Regions from separate parts of the Homo sapiens genome. Here region 2 is linked to region 1. Evidence: promoter capture Hi-C in 16 types of primary human blood cells and fetal thymus (Javierre and others, 2016). All regions are on one chromosome and are shown on one strand. Each heading gives the region's core, a stretch centred on a gene start or on the middle of the fragment in contact. The rest is flanking DNA. Distances are from core to core; before and after follow the strand shown.

Evidence for each region. Contacts are between HindIII fragments. The CHiCAGO score rates a contact against its expected background, and 5 or more counts as called.
Region 2: a fragment that was not itself captured here is called in contact with the fragment with the promoter of LINC00479 in region 1 in 7 of 17 cell types (non-activated CD4 T cells, total CD4 T cells, naive CD8 T cells and 4 more); the score reaches 8.3 in non-activated CD4 T cells.

Annotation. Positions count from the first base shown.
Region 1 is chr21:41,711,286-41,718,975 of GRCh38, forward strand. LINC00479 (long intergenic non-protein coding RNA 479) reads right to left here and starts at 4,490. Exons shown (of 6, transcript NR_027272.1): 1 at 4,457-4,490; 2 at 3,835-3,998; 3 at 2,949-3,067; 4 at 2,735-2,847; 5 at 2,266-2,387; 6 at 235-1,715. LINC00112 (long intergenic non-protein coding RNA 112) reads left to right here and starts at 5,151. Exons shown (of 3, transcript NR_024028.2): 1 at 5,151-5,259; 2 at 5,716-5,889; 3 at 6,057-6,297. The HindIII fragment of the contact is 7,368 bases long and covers 1-6,302 here.
Region 2 is chr21:41,272,304-41,279,993 of GRCh38, forward strand. BACE2 (beta-secretase 2) reads left to right here. Exons shown (of 9, transcript NM_012105.5): 9 at 3,068-7,690. The coding sequence ends at 3,321. Among named protein-coding and RNA genes, the nearest start is that of FAM3B, 41 kb to the right of the region's middle. RefSeq lists enhancers at 2,270-3,469, 7,533-7,690. The HindIII fragment of the contact is 225 bases long and covers 3,493-3,717 here.

The sequences.
Region 1 (7,690 bases), core at 3,240-5,739:
CACGCCCTCTCCAAACGCTTTCCAGAGGTAGGCCAGGCGGCCAATGGTTGCACCTGAGGCCCAGGAGAGGAACTGACCTCACTGGCTTTGTAAACGCCATGATATTCAAGTTCTCACGTTTCCTATTTCTGAGCAAGCCAAATCAATGTCAACATACATGAAATACATCTATGAATGTGGTCTACAAAGAGATTCTTTATTTTGCAAGACAAGTCCATAGCAAGCAAATCTTTTGAGTCCTGAAAATATATTGTTTTTCAAAATTCCGAGTGACGTGCAACTATTTCATAAACTGGAGCACATGATCGGGTGTACTATTACCCCTTCCTCTAGGTGGTATTTCAAAGGGTACGTATTTCCCCCACCCTTCATGAATTAACTCCTTGTTTTACTTTCCTAGGGCGGCAGTCACAAGATACCACAGACTGGGTGGCTGAAAACACAGAAATGCGTTCTTTGGCAGTTCTGGAAGCTATCATGGAATCCTGAAATCAAGGTGTGTCCCGGATGTCTCCAGGGAGAACCGTTCCAGGCCTCTCCCTGCTCCTGGTGTCAGCTGGCACTGCCAGGCTTCCTGGCCTCTCCCTGCTCCTGGTGTCAGCTGGCACTGCCAGGCGTCCCTCGGCTTGTAAGGGCGTCACTCCCGTTGCAGGCCGTCTTCTCCTTGCCCCTTTACTTCACCTTCCCTCAGTGTGTGTCTATGTCTGTATCCAAATTTCTCCTTTTTGAAAGGACACCAGTCATGCTGCACTAGGGTCCCTGCTAATGACCTCATTTTAATCAGTTACTCTGTAAAGGTCTTATCTCCAAGCACGGTCACATTCTAGGGGACTGGGAATCAGGACCCCAACATACCTGTTTTGGGGGGACACAATTCAACCCTAACACTCCCATTTTCTAATAGAAGAGGAGAGGGGAGGGAAGGAGGGAAGGGGGAAGGGGCCGGAGACCTCGGCAGGAGGGAGGGAGAAGCCAGCCTGCCGCCCTGCGCGCACCGGCTGTGTTTCTGTGCGTTGTGCTTTTGTTCTGCATGCTGGGCGGGCGGAACAGGGTGCTGGCATCCAGGCTCACCCAGAGGGGAGGGGGACCTGCAGGGGGAGGGGAGCACTCAGGGGATCAGGGGAGGAGAGTGTGGGCCAGGTGACCTGCCAGGCGAGAGAAAATCGGGGAATCCGCACAGCATTTTCAGACAGCCTGACAGCAGCCGCTCGCTCCCCTCTGAGCCCCAGCCCCCAGCAAGCGGGCCTCTGGCCCCAGGTCTGGGAGCGGCGTGGAAGTAGACCTTGGCTCTCCCTCCCCGGCAGCACCCCACCTCCCTTTGTCTCTCCAGCCAGAGGTGGGCCTGTGGGGATGCTAATCTCAGAGCCACCTCTCCATCTAAGGTTGCTAGAAATTCGGCAAACAAAAGATAGATTTAGAGAACAAAAAAATTTAAAAAAAATAATATGGCCGGTTAAATGTGAGTTTCAATTTCCAATAAATAAATGTTGCCTGGGATATGCTTATATCAAAAACTTACGTGTCACTTACCTAGCATTTGCATTTCACTGGGCCTCCTAAATTCTGTGTGGTAACCGACTGCCACCGGACATGCTGTTTACTTCTCTATCCTCACGCAGCCAGTTGCCACATTCAACATAACACTGCAAATATTGCCGGTGGATCCTGACTTCCTCGTGGACCCTACTGTGTCGGGAAAAACAAACAAACGAACCCTGGAAGGAAACACCATGAGTTGTTAGTAGTGCCTGTCTCTGAATGATGGGCTTACAGGTGGTTTTCAATTTTTTGTCTTTAATTTTTTTTTTTTTTTTTAGACTGAGTCTCACTCTGTTGCCCAGGCTGGAATGCAGTGGCATGATCTTAGCTCACTGCAACCTCTGCCACCCGGGTTCAAGCGATTCCCCTGCCTCAGCCTCCCAAGCAACTGGGATTACAGACATTCGCCATCATGCCCAGCTAATTTTTGTGTTTTTGGTAGAGATGGTGTTTTGCCATGTTGGCCAGGCTGGTCTTGAACTCCTGACCTCAGGAGATCTGCCTGCTTTGGGCACCCAAAGTGCTAGGATTATAGGCGTGAGCCACAGCACCTGGCTTGTCTTTAATTTTTTGTTTATACTTTTCTATACCTTCTAATTGTTTTCAACCAACACGTATATCCCAGAAAATGTTTTAATGATTAAAATAAAACAATTGCCCTCTCCTCCTTGGAGCCCCATCCACAAGAGCAGCTTCTGCAGATGTGGGAAGGAGAAGACTTTGTACCTGGGTCCCAGGCCACGTGAATAATTAACCCTGTCTAGGGAGCCTTGGAGGTCTGATGAGGCCAGGGCTTGAAGGAGAGCCGCGGAGCACGCCAGGATCCAGGCTTGTGGGTAGCAGCATCCCTGGAAATGGTCCCCAGTGGGGGAGGAACCAGTAGCCATCACCTCCAACCCCCAGCCACCGCCCCGCGCCATGTGAGTGAGGTGGCATCTGGTTTTCCACACACACCTCCCCATGTCGCTGGACGCAGGCAAGGCCACCCAACCCCCAAGCCAGAGTCACCCGGACAGACGGATACTAGGCACCTTAGCACTTCCATGGCCAGAGGCCTCCTGAGGTGGGAACCGGGTCCTAGCCCATCCCAGGCCATCCCCTCCAGGACCTTCCTGGAGGAGCGGGGAGACCAGACTTAGAGGAAGGCTCCATGTCCCAGGTCCAGACAGGGGTGAGGGGGAAGAGGGGTGAGCACCTGTGTTAGGCACTTTGAACTCTCCAGGTCAGGTGACTGCATCCAGCTGAGACTCCTGGCCTCCCTCCAGCGTGGAATGAGCAGCCGGTCCTGTCCCGTCCACCCCTCCAGTGCTGCGGAACAGAACGGGAATGGCAAGTCCCCATGTGCTGTCTCCCCGCCCTTCTACAGCACCGGTGGCACAAATGCTGGGGACAGTGCCGGCCCCACTCACAGGAGAGCTGCTGGGCTGGCTCCAAGGCTCCTCCGTCCATGGCTGCTGGGCTGGCTCGGAGGCTGCCTCCGTCCATGGTCTCTGCAGTGGACAGTCTGTGTCACGCCTCCATCTGTGGTCTTTGCAGTGGACAGTCTGTGTGACGCCTCCTCCGTCCATGGTTTTTGCAGTGGACAGTCTGTGTCATGCCTCCATCCATGTCTTCCAGCAACACCACCTCACTCTGCTTTACACAATCACTCCACCTCCGTGTAATGCCCAACCTTGTTTTTCCTTTATTCACCTAGCCTTGCTTCTCCCTTAGCTGAGAGAGTCACACAAACTCCATCTTGGCTCTTTCACCGGCAGCCCCTTCCTCAAGGACTTAACTTGTGCAAGCTGACTCCCAGCACATCCAAGAATGCAGTTAACTGATAAGATACTGTGGCGAGCTAGATCCGCAGTTCCCAGGAATTTGTCCGAATGATAACGCCCGAAGCCCCGCGTCTATCACCTTGTAATAGTCTTAAAGCCCCTGCACCTGGAACTGTTTACTTTCCTGTAACCATTTGTCCTTTTAACTTTTTGACTACTTAACTTCTGTAAAATTGTTCTAACTAGACCCCCCTCCCCTTCCTAAACCAAGATGTAAAAGTTAATCAAGCCCCTTCCTCGGGGCCAAGAGAATTTTGAGCGTTAGCTGTCTCTTGGTTGCCAGCTAATAGAGGACTCCTAATTCATCTCAAAGTGTGGCGTTTTTCTAACTCGCTCAGGTACAACATCCCCACATGCCCTGCCCCCGCTTTGTATGCACACAGCACACACCTGTGCACATACAAACATCTGCTTTCACACATGGACACACTCACTGAGGTGAAGAGGCACACTCAGGCACACACACACTCACATTTGGTACATGCAGCTCCTGAGGGGCAAGGCTGAGCTCCTTCTCAGGAACGGACACAAGACTGAGGGCTGGGTCACTCAGATACTTTGCCCCTCGGGCCCCACGGATTGATTTAGGGGTGAACTGTGAATCCCTGGGAGATTCCTTCCTGCCACGCATTCCTGCTGATGGGAAACAAAGCGGTCTTTGAGGGATGCTGGAGGAGGCAGCAGTTTGTGATAAAGAGCTGTGAGAGGAGAAGCCCCTTTGCCACCTGCCCTCCTTTGTGCATTGGATGTTGTCCTCAATGGACGTGATGCCTGGAGTCCCTGCAGCCATCTTGCCTCCATGGGGCAAGCCAGGAAAACCTCACCGACTTAATGGCTTCCCTCCAGCCTTTCCAAAGCCTTGCTCTGGTCTCAGAGAGTTAGGAATTCTGTCACTTAAGGCCCAGAGCATCCTGCTGCTCCCTTCACTCCAGAACCAGAGCCACACGGCTAACAGGCAAAGGGTCAGGAACATAGCCCGTGTTTTCTGCTCTCGGCACTTGGTCATTCTGCATAGAATTTGGCTCCAAGGCCTGGCCTGACACCTTCGCACCAAGGTGCCGTAAATGAAACCTTTACTCCTGAGACTTCCTCACCTCTGCGTTCCCAGGGATCCACAATCTTCTATTTGTAAAATGATTCCCGGTTGTCATGGAGACCAGGGCACCGCAGTGGAGCTGGAATGTTAGGTGGGGTCCAAGGTTCAGTCCTGGGGGTAGGGAGTGGGGCAGGCAGCTTCACTGGGCCCTTTATCTGCCTGATTCTCATCTTTCTTACACAATAGTCTACTCATTATTCCTTCCCTAAGGGCCAGGACACAGGCCTGCCTGGGGTTACAGTCCCTGTCTTTACAAGTCCTCTCCTTCTGGCTCTTGGGCGTGCCTGAGCTCAAAGGAGCCTCCAAGCAAACTTGGCAGGGGGTGTCCCCCAGGGCAGAGGTGGGGCCCTGGCTCAGCACCCCCAGAAACCACAAGGTGGGGGCGGAGGATCCTGCACCTGACCTTCACCTTCGTGTGGATCAGATCAGAGCAGAAGTTCTATTTCTGGAACTGTCAGACCTGCTGACCTCCAGTCAATGGCAGAGGCAGGAAGGCAGGCAGAAATACAAGATGCAGCTCTTGTTACACCTCCTGCACAGACCAACCTAGTCTCGGCTCCACACAGCCACTCACTCTTTCACTCAACACGTGTTTCCGAGCATCTTCTATGTGCCTTTTCTCTATCATCAGATGGGGGCCCCTGCGGTGGGCAGAATAACGGCCACTGCAAAGATGCCAAATCTTATCCCCAGAGCTTCCGCAGAGATCCTGCAGATGTGATTCGAGTCTTCCAGCAACACCACCTCACTCTGCTTTGCACAATCACTCCACCTCCCCACATGTTGCGGAGATTCTCCTGGGTCAGTCGGGGGGTCCAGTGTCATCCTAGGGTCCTTATGAGAGGGAGGAAGGGAGGCGGAGGAGGAGATGCAAGGATGAAGCGAAGGTTGGAGTGATGTGGTCTGCTGCGGGGACCCTGAGGCGTGCAGGCGGCCTCTGGAAGCTGAAAAGACAGGAAGGCAGCTTCTCCCCTGAGCCTCCAGAAGAACCCGGCCCTGCTGACACTGGCCCAGGAGCCCCTTCCCCCATCAGGGCCTGGAGAGGGAAGAAATGACTGTTCACAGATTTTACCCCGCAAGACCCATTTCAGCATTCTGATTTTGAGAACCATAAGACAGTGTGTGTTGTTTAAGCCTCCAAGTCTGTGGATATTCATTACAGCAGCCTTGGGAAACTGACACCACCTCCCCCTAATCCTCCCTCCCGCCCCCACCTACACCTGAACCCTCCCCTTGCTCTTCTCTGCCGATTCACAGGGATTCACACTCTTCCTACTTGCAGCTGTGACACGGGAAACATCCTCCACCAGGTCTTCTCTCACAGTGTGGCCTCTGCGCACAGGTTATCCACCTGTAGACCTGGACGGGACCCTCGAGGCTCCCTACTCTGACCATCTGGTTTTATAGTTGAGGAACCAGAAGCCGAGGCAGGTAACTTGGTGCAGCCTAAAGGCCTCCATCCCTCCAGTGCCCACAACTTAGGTGCCCACGACAACAACACTGGCCTACCGCAAAGACCCAGCCCAGAGGAACAAGGTGCCACTGTATGTCTGAAAAGGGGGCCCTCGGCCTCACTGGGGAGCACCTTCCTCCATCAGGGTCTCGACGGTGAAGAAGCAGGCTGTTTCCATCTTCAGGATACAAGCCATCTGCGCATAGGAAGAGGGTCCAGAGGCTCATCTGGAATCCCTCCTCACTCACTGGACGGAGGACCTGACCCCGTTCCCATCATTGGTTCTGAATCCATCAGCCCAGCAAGACAGGTGTCTCCAGCAAGTTCTGTAAAATACAACCATAGCCGGGCCTGGAGTCAGCCCCCAATAAAGGGTTCACCATGGAGTCAAAGCTTCCTTCACATTGGGAAGAGCCTGATGATGCCGCCTTGGTGCCACCCGTGCAGGCCGTGTTCCACTTCTGTCATGGGCTGGAGAGAAAAGAGCGACATGGACCTGTTCATGAAAGGCTCTTCCCGCAACACCAAGCCTGGGGCCTGCAGGGCCGCCATGAAGAAAGGTGGCTCCTGCTTGGCAGAGAGAAAAGGGGAGGGAGGGCAGGTGAGTCACCAGCATTGGGCCCCTCAGCCCAGGCTGCCAAGGCAGCCCAGTGGAACCTGTCCCCATACAGCATGTTTTTAGTTTGAATGGTTTTACAGTGTTGGAGCTGTAACTTTACAAATTTGCTTTGCCTTCATAACTCTGTAAGAGCTATAAGCAAACGTAGCTTTAATCAGCATTTACAGCGTGCAGGAGCATCTTTCCTTTAATTCTGCAGGAGGATTTGTGCCCTGTGGATGCCATAACAAAGTATCACAAACCCACAAGTCAGGAAGGAAGGTGTGGGCAGGGTGGGTTCCTCCTGGAGGCTCTGGGGACACGTCTGTTCTGTGCCCGCCTCCAGCTTCTGACGGTCGTGCCAATGCTTGGCCTCCCGTGACTATGGAAGCCTCTCTGTAGTCTCCACTTCCATCCTCCCAGCGCTCTCCTCCCCTGTGTCTGTCCCTCCTGCCTTCTGTCTGGCTAATCTCATGAGGACACCATTCATTGGGTTTAGGGCTCACTCTGAATCCAAGATGAGCTCATCTCGAGATTCTTCTTCTTTTTTTTTCTTTTTTTTGAGAAGGAGTCTGGCTCTGTCACCCAGGCTGGAGTATAGTAACACAATCTCAGCTCACTGCAACCTCCGCCTCCCGGGTTCAAGAGATTCTCCTGCCTCAGCCTCCCGAGAAGCTGGGATTACAGGTGTCCACCACAACGTCCCGCTAATTTTTGTATTTTTAGTAGAGACAAGGTTTCTCCATCTTAGCCAGTCTGGTCTTGAACTCCTGACCTCAAGTGATCTGCCCGCCTCAGCCTCCTAAAGCACTAGGATTACAGGTAAGAGCCATCACGCCTGGCTGGGATTCTTAATTATCTCTGCAAAGACCCTATTTCCACATAGGTCACCTTCACAGGTACCAGAGGGTAGGGCTTGGACACATCTTTTGAGGGACCACTACTCAATCTACTACACTAAATTTGAGTAATTATGATCAAGACCAACCCCTCATTTTGCAGAAGAGAACAAGGCCTGAGAAGGGAGCCAGCTGGCCCCAGCCTCACAGCACTGCCACCACACGCAGGCCAGCGCTCAGCCACAGTGGCTCCCCCAAACTTGGACCATGAGGCACCTGCTGGCACCCCTCACCTGGCCTGTTCCAAAGCACTATCTGAGGCTGGCTGTTTGCTTTGCTTTT
Region 2 (7,690 bases), core at 2,355-4,854, 440 kb before region 1:
TGTGTTTGGGGTCCTTTGGGCTTCTTGGGTCTGTGGGTTTATAGTTTCATAAAATTTGGAAAATTTTTGGTTTTTTCAAATATTTTTTGCCTCACAATCCCTTCTTCCTTTTGAGTACTCTGATTACATGATTTAGCAGCTTGATATTGTCCACAGTTTACTGATGTTCTCTCTCTCTCTTTTTTTTCAGTTTTTTCTCTGTGCTTCATTTCTATTGTTTTGGTTTTTTTTAAATTCATTAGTCTGTTTTTCTGCAGTGTATAATCTGCTCTTACAACCATCCCGTATATTTTTCATCTCACATATTATAATTTTTATCACTAAAAATTTGATTTAGATCTTTAATGTCTTCCGTGTCTCTATTTAACATGTTTAACATTTTCTCTGGCATCCTGAGTAGAATACAGTTATAATAAATATCTTGATATCCTGCCTGCTAATTCTATCATCTGTGCCATTTCTTACTAAGTTCCAATTGATTGATTTTGCTCCCTATTATGAACTGTGTTTTCCTGCTTCTTTGCATAATTAGTGCTGTAGAATCAATGTTTATGTCCTGCCAAAATTCTTATGTTGAAACCTATCGGGGGAACCTGCCCCCGATAATTCAACATTATTTCACGTAGGTTCTTTTCTATTTCCTTAAGTGTCAGCCGGTCTGAGAAATAAAGGGAAAGAGTACAAAAGAGAGAAATTTTAAAGCTGGGTGTCCAGGGAAGACATCACATGTCGGCAGGTTCGTGATGCCCCCTGAGCTGCAAAACCAGCAAGTTTTTATTAGTGATTTTCAAAGGGGAGGGAGTGTACGAATAGGGTGTGGGTCACAGAGATCACATACTTCACAAGGTAATAAAATATTACAAGGCAAATGGAGGCAGGGCAAGATCACAGGACCAGGGCGAAATCAAAATTGCTAATGAAGCTTTGGGCACGCATTGTCATTGATAACATCTTATCAGGAGACAGGGTTTGAGAGCAGACAACTGGTCTGACCAAAATTTATTAGGCGGAAATTTCCTTGTCCTGATAGGCCTGGGAGCGCTATGGGAGACCGGGGCTTATTTCATCCCTTATCGGCAACCGTAAAAGACAGACATTGCCAGAGCAGCCATTTCAGGGACCTACCCCTAGGAACACATTCTTTTTCTCAGGGCTGTTCCTGCTGAGAAAAATAATTCAGCGATATTTCTCCTATTTGCTTTTGAAAGAAGAGAAATATGGCTCTGTTCCGCCCGGCTCTCAGGCAGCCAGACCTAATGGTTATCTCCTTTGTTCCCTGAACATTGCTGTTAGCCTGTTCTTTTCTCAAGGTGCCCAGATTTCATATTGTTTAAACAATTTGTGCAGTTAACACAATCATCACAGGGTCCTGAGGTGGCATACATTCTCAGCTTAGGAAGATGATGGGATTAAGAGATTAAAGTAAAGACAGCATAGGAAATCACAAGAGTATTGATTGGGGAAGTGATAAATGTCCATGAAATCTTCACAATTTATGTTCAGAGATTGCAGTAAAGACAGGCGTAAGAAATTATAAAAGTACTAATTTAAGGAACTAATAAATGTCTGAAATCTTCACAATTTATGTTCTTCTGCCATGGCTTTGGCCAGTCCCTCCGTTCGGGGTCCCTGACTTCCCGCAACAGAAACCTAATCTCCAAGGTGATGATATTTGGAGTTGGGGCCTTTGGAAGGTGATTAGGTCACGAGGGCAGAGCTTTTCTTTGTAAATGGAATTACTGCCCATTATTAAAGACAGTCCAAGAGAGCTCCCTTGTCTCTTCCACCATGTAAAGACACAGCAAGAAGATCATTATCTACAAACCAGGAAATGGGAGTATAGATTGACTGCAGGGTGCATCCCTCTGTTCTCGGTGTTGGCAGGCTCTTGTTCATTGCCTTTCTTTTTCAGTGCACTTAGGAAAGCCATATTATGACAGAATCCACATTAGCAAGAAAATGCAGTCACTTTGCAAAGTAATCAAGCCTGTTTTCCTCTGATTTTAAAACCATTCTTTTCAGGTCATTATCGCATTGTTATTTTGACTTTTTCTTTCCTCAGTCAAAAAGGGTATTATTTGGCAGCTCTGAAGATCTTGAGGCTTTAGTTACAGAAAAATCAAATTCTTAGCAGTGTTATTTTCTGGTGCCAAAATATTCATTTCTGTGATTAAATATAGGAAAAATGGGTAATGAGGCCTATTTCTTTTCCGTATTGCAAGTAAAGCTTAAGATCCCATATTCCTGAAAGGGGCAGAGAAGCCTAGTGTAGGCAAAGGAAGTCTACAGATAATCCACAAACCGGCTTTAAGAAATCATCTCAACTTCCTTCTTGGTTTGAAGTTATTCAAGAGTCTCTAGCAGAAGTCACCGGGTGAATTTTAACTGTTTCTCTTTGTCACCAGTGATGTCATGAATTAGGTGTTGCATTCACTTACTGCTCCTGGCTGTTGATGAGACCTAGGATAAGAGTGGGGCAGGGAGGGTCTCTCAAGCCAGCCTGACCCCCGGAGGTCTCACAACCCACTAAGACTATGAGTCAGGTTGATATGAGGTCCCTATCTGTTGTAGAATCCATGGTAGGGAGTGAACTCAGGTTGACTCCACTGGGGAAAATTCCCCATGACGTAGGCAGGTCCAGCTGAGCTTTCTGCGGTAAATTCTCCTTCTCTTTCTCCTCTTTTTTCATCTCCACTGAGGAAGCACAACCCACACAGCTGTCATGACCAGGTGCTGACCTGCACTCTCACCTGTGTAGTACCGCAGTGTCGCTGGCATTCCATGAAGCACAGGGTGCTTCCATATGTGCCCTGCTGCAGTTCCCCTCCACACCTAGGCTCGGTACCCACACACCTTAAAACATGCCGTCGTTCCAGTTTGCAGGGACTGGACCCCCAAAGGCACGCTGAGCCGTGACCCCACTCAGTGCTTCCTGAGCTGTCTAAGCCACTGGGACCTCAGTGGACTTTAACTGTGGTTTAATAAACCAAGGGGTTCTGTCTGTGTCCAATGTGAGAGGTGGACCGCTCATTTCACAGCTGTGGATTTTCCCTTTCTGTCTCCCCAGAAATTGCAGGTGCTGCAGTGTCTGAAATTTCCGGGCCTTTCTCAACAGAGGATGTAGCCAGCAACTGTGTCCCCGCTCAGTCTTTGAGCGAGCCCATTTTGTGGATTGTGTCCTATGCGCTCATGAGCGTCTGTGGAGCCATCCTCCTTGTCTTAATCGTCCTGCTGCTGCTGCCGTTCCGGTGTCAGCGTCGCCCCCGTGACCCTGAGGTCGTCAATGATGAGTCCTCTCTGGTCAGACATCGCTGGAAATGAATAGCCAGGCCTGACCTCAAGCAACCATGAACTCAGCTATTAAGAAAATCACATTTCCAGGGCAGCAGCCGGGATCGATGGTGGCGCTTTCTCCTGTGCCCACCCGTCTTCAATCTCTGTTCTGCTCCCAGATGCCTTCTAGATTCACTGTCTTTTGATTCTTGATTTTCAAGCTTTCAAATCCTCCCTACTTCCAAGAAAAATAATTAAAAAAAAAACTTCATTCTAAACCAAAACAGAGTGGATTGGGCTGCAGGCTCTATGGGGTTCGTTATGCCAAAGTGTCTACATGTGCCACCAACATAAAACAAAACCAAGCCTTGGCTCGTTCTCTTCTCTCTTCAATCTCTGGAAAAATAAGTACATATAGTTGATAACCCCTCTTAGCTTACAGGAAGCTTTTTGTATTAATTGCCTTTGAGGTTATTTTCCGCCAGACCTCAACCTGGGTCAAAGTGGTACAGGAAGGCTTGCAGTATGATGGCAGGAGAATCAGCCTGGGGCCTGGGGATGTAACCAAGCTGTACCCTTGAGACCTGGAACCAGAGCCACAGGCCCCTTTTGTGGGTTTCTCTGTGCTCTGAATGGGAGCCAGAATTCACTAGGAGGTCATCAACCGATGGTCCTCACAAGCCTCTTCTGAAGATGGAAGGCCTTTTGCCCGTTGAGGTAGAGGGGAAGGAAATCTCCTCTTTTGTACCCAATACTTATGTTGTATTGTTGGTGCGAAAGTAAAAACACTACCTCTTTTGAGACTTTGCCCAGGGTCCTGTGCCTGGATGGGGGTGCAGGCAGCCTTGACCACGGCTGTTCCCCTCACCCAAAAGAATTATCATCCCAACAGCCAAGACCCAACAGGTGCTGAACTGTGCATCAACCAGGAAGAGTTCTATCCCCAAGCTGGCCACTATCACATATGCTTACTCTTGCTTAAAATTAATAAATCATGTTTTGATGAGAAAAAACTATTCTATTTCACTAGCTTAGTTGTCTCTTTTTCCAAATCTTCTCTGGAAGTAGGTTGGCTATTACCCTGTTGGGAAACAGGGAAATGGCCTGATGCCCCTATTTCTGACCAGCTGTCAGGGAAGGAAGATGCAAGATGTGCAGAAGACACAAGGTAACGTCTACTTATCCCCGTGCTTCGAAACCGTGTGTTTCCCTTTGCAGAACTGGTTAGCCTCAAGCATACCCATCCAATCAGCTTAAATTGTTCAGCAGTTGACCTCTGTGCTTCTTCCTTTGGGGGTGTTTAATCTTTGGTAACAGTTGTGCAGTGGTAGCCTTATTTCGGGGGGCAGTCCCTACTTTCTGTCACTTATCGAGGCCTTTGCCAAAGAAAAGTGGAAGCCGTTTCCTTGACATAGCCTTATATGACCTGATGTCATTAGGAGAAGAGTTAAAAGACAGTATCCCCTCTCTCCTGCTTGTGTGCCAAGTTCAGTGTTCCCTTTGCATTTTTTTGGGGTGGGTTGGCTATATTACAGAATTCCACCAAAAGTGCTAAGTGTCCCCTCCTGCAGAAGTATCGTTTGTATTCACAGTAGGCTACGTGTGGATGTTTCAGCCATCTGCTCTGCTCCCTGGGTCCCCGGGTCACCACCATACTGAGAAATATAGGACTCTGCCAAAGAGACGTGGAGGCCACGTCGGCTTGTCATGGTGTCCTGGAAGACTCTCCAGCAGCCAGAAGAACCTTCTGTGCTGTTTTCACTAGAGAAGATTTGAGTTGCAGCCTCTTGGAAAGAACATGACGGCACGGAACGGGAGGAGGGGGCTCTTGTATCAGGGCCCGTTGTCACATCCGCTCTCAGCTTGTTGAAAACTCATAATCTCAGAATGCATTTCACACGGAGAGATGTCTGGAAGTCCAATTCTCATCCCATTGGCTTTTTCCGTGGTTGCTGTTTTGTGGGCCGCTTTGCACAGGAGTGAAGCCAACACCCCTAGATTGTGCCTTCACCCTTGCTGTGAAAAATTCAAAGCCCTGAAATAAGAGGAGGGAATCGCAGACATGCCCTGATTAGTTTTCCTGCTTATTTCTTCATACAGGCATCTTCTGTTCCGTTGTATTGTGTTAGGTTTCAGAGGCGGGGAGCTTCCTCCTGCAGCAGATGAACAGGCATAGTTCTTAAAATACAGGAAAGTAACAAGTGAGGTTTCCAGGTAGAGTAGGTGAATGAAGTTTGCCGTCATGCTCTGTATTTCATATCAGATTTCTTTATCTTTTCATATCGCATGTCATTGGATGTGACATTTTGATGAAAATACTGAAACTACAAAAGCATAACTTCGCAACAAGAATGAGATAGACAATTGAATGTGGGACATTTTTCTGGCATGTCTTGCTGCTGAGAATCGGACTTCCAGTCAAAACCCTGTTAGTGACACCCACCTCCTCCAGTTATGCAAATTGATGCTTAGCTTGGCAAGCTTTCAAGGAGGTTTGCTTGGAACAGGAAAGGAATTAACAACCCTTTGAGGGTGTCATTTTTACCTTGTAATACACTGTGGAAAATTCTGGAAGACGGTCCTTGCCTGAAAAGGTGCAACTTAGCATTAGGTTGTTATCAGAAACCTTGTCAAGTCTGATGGGAAATGAATAGATGCTGCTTTATTTCCTTGATAACTTCTTTGGAAGTCTGAAATAAATCCTGCCTTCAGTAACTGAAACCATTTATTAAAAATAGCAAGAAACAAGATGGGGACCAATTCTATTTTTATTCTTGGGAATTTGAAAGAGCCACAAGTGATTGGTGTCCGATCTCCCAGCATATACTGTACACTATTTTGTATTTCTCCTGAACCAAAACCAAGTACTTAGCACTCAAGAAACAGATGCCCTGTGTGTGACCGAGGGGAGTGTTTTTCCACAACAGGTTCCACTTCTGAACACTTGGAAGGACCTTGCCTGATTCATGGTGAAACACAGAGGTTTTGGTTGGAGATAAATTTGGGGTCAGTTACTGTTCAAAATTGTGAAAGTAGTTCCCAGGAAGACAGCATTAGTGACTCCGCAGTGCTTTGGGTAATAGATTTTGAAAAGCAATTGTGAGTTGGGGATTCCATCATTTCATTTAAGAGGTGAAGAGGGATTTAATTATTTAATACGCCGGGTGCAAACTTGTTAAATTCCTCTTTCCCTGTCCCTGCTTGGTGGAGCTGCCACGTGTGGTTCAGTTCTAAGTTCTGGACTAGTGCCACTCGATATCATTGGGAATAAATCGTTGTTCAACAGTCTGTTCCACAAACAACAGTAATTGAATTTCACAGACTTTATCCTGATTAGTGGAAATCAAATAATGGAGTGGAATCCCCATGTGTTTTCTCTTGCACAAACTTATTAGACTTGATTAGAAAACTGTTTGGAGGAAAAACTTGCCAGTAAGTTTTTTGGTTGTTGTTTTGTTTTTTTTGAAAAACGACGCAACACCATAAAGTGTAAAATTAGGGGTTCTGGCCAAGAGAGGTACTAGATTTTTTTAATGCCGAGAAAAGTCCATGCCACAGAAGTTATTGTGTATGTCTCTAGGGAGCTTTAAGAATTTCACGTTTGAACTTTACAGCTGTTTACCAATTAAATGGCAAGCTGGAAAAATACATTTTGAGAGGGGTAGAAAGAATAAGAATATAATTAAAAGTATGCTAACAAAATAAGCAGTACATATTTTTTTAGAAAATGCAGTTTAGGCCAGGCACGGTAGCTCGTGCCTGTAATCCCAGCACTTTGGGAGGCCGAGGCAGGTGGATCACCTGAGGTCAGGAGTTTGAGACCAGCCTGGACAACATGGTGAAACCCCGTCTCTACTAAAAATACAAAAAATTAGCCAACGATGGTGATGCCTGTCTGTAATCCCAGCTACTCTGGAGGCTGAGGCAGGAGAATCGCTTGAACCGGGGAGGCAGAGGTTGTAGTGAGCCAAGATTGCGCCACTGCACTCCAGCCTGGGCAACAGAGCAAGACTCCGTCTCAAAAAAGGAAAGAAAATGCAGTTTCATTCCAGCCATCCTTAGATTTCTTTTCCCCTTAAAGTGGCTGAATCCATTGGAGATGTGATTTATTTTGCAGATCCACCAATTCCAAACTTCAGGAATATTCAAGCGGGAGTCATGTGTAAGTGACAGCTTTGACAAAGAGAGACTGTGGCTGGGTGGCCCGGGTGTTGCCCACGCGGAGCAAGGATTGGTTCATTCAACGGATGGAGAGTACAGGATGGCTGGGACCTGGGAAGTTCCAGAATCTGAAAAGAGGGCAGGGCAAGAAGGAGCCAGAAGAGAGGTCCCACCCCTCAGTTGGCAGTGGGGCACGGAGGTCCGCATCAGCCAAGAACGTCCCCAGGATGCCGTGGGCACCTCATTTCACCCCACG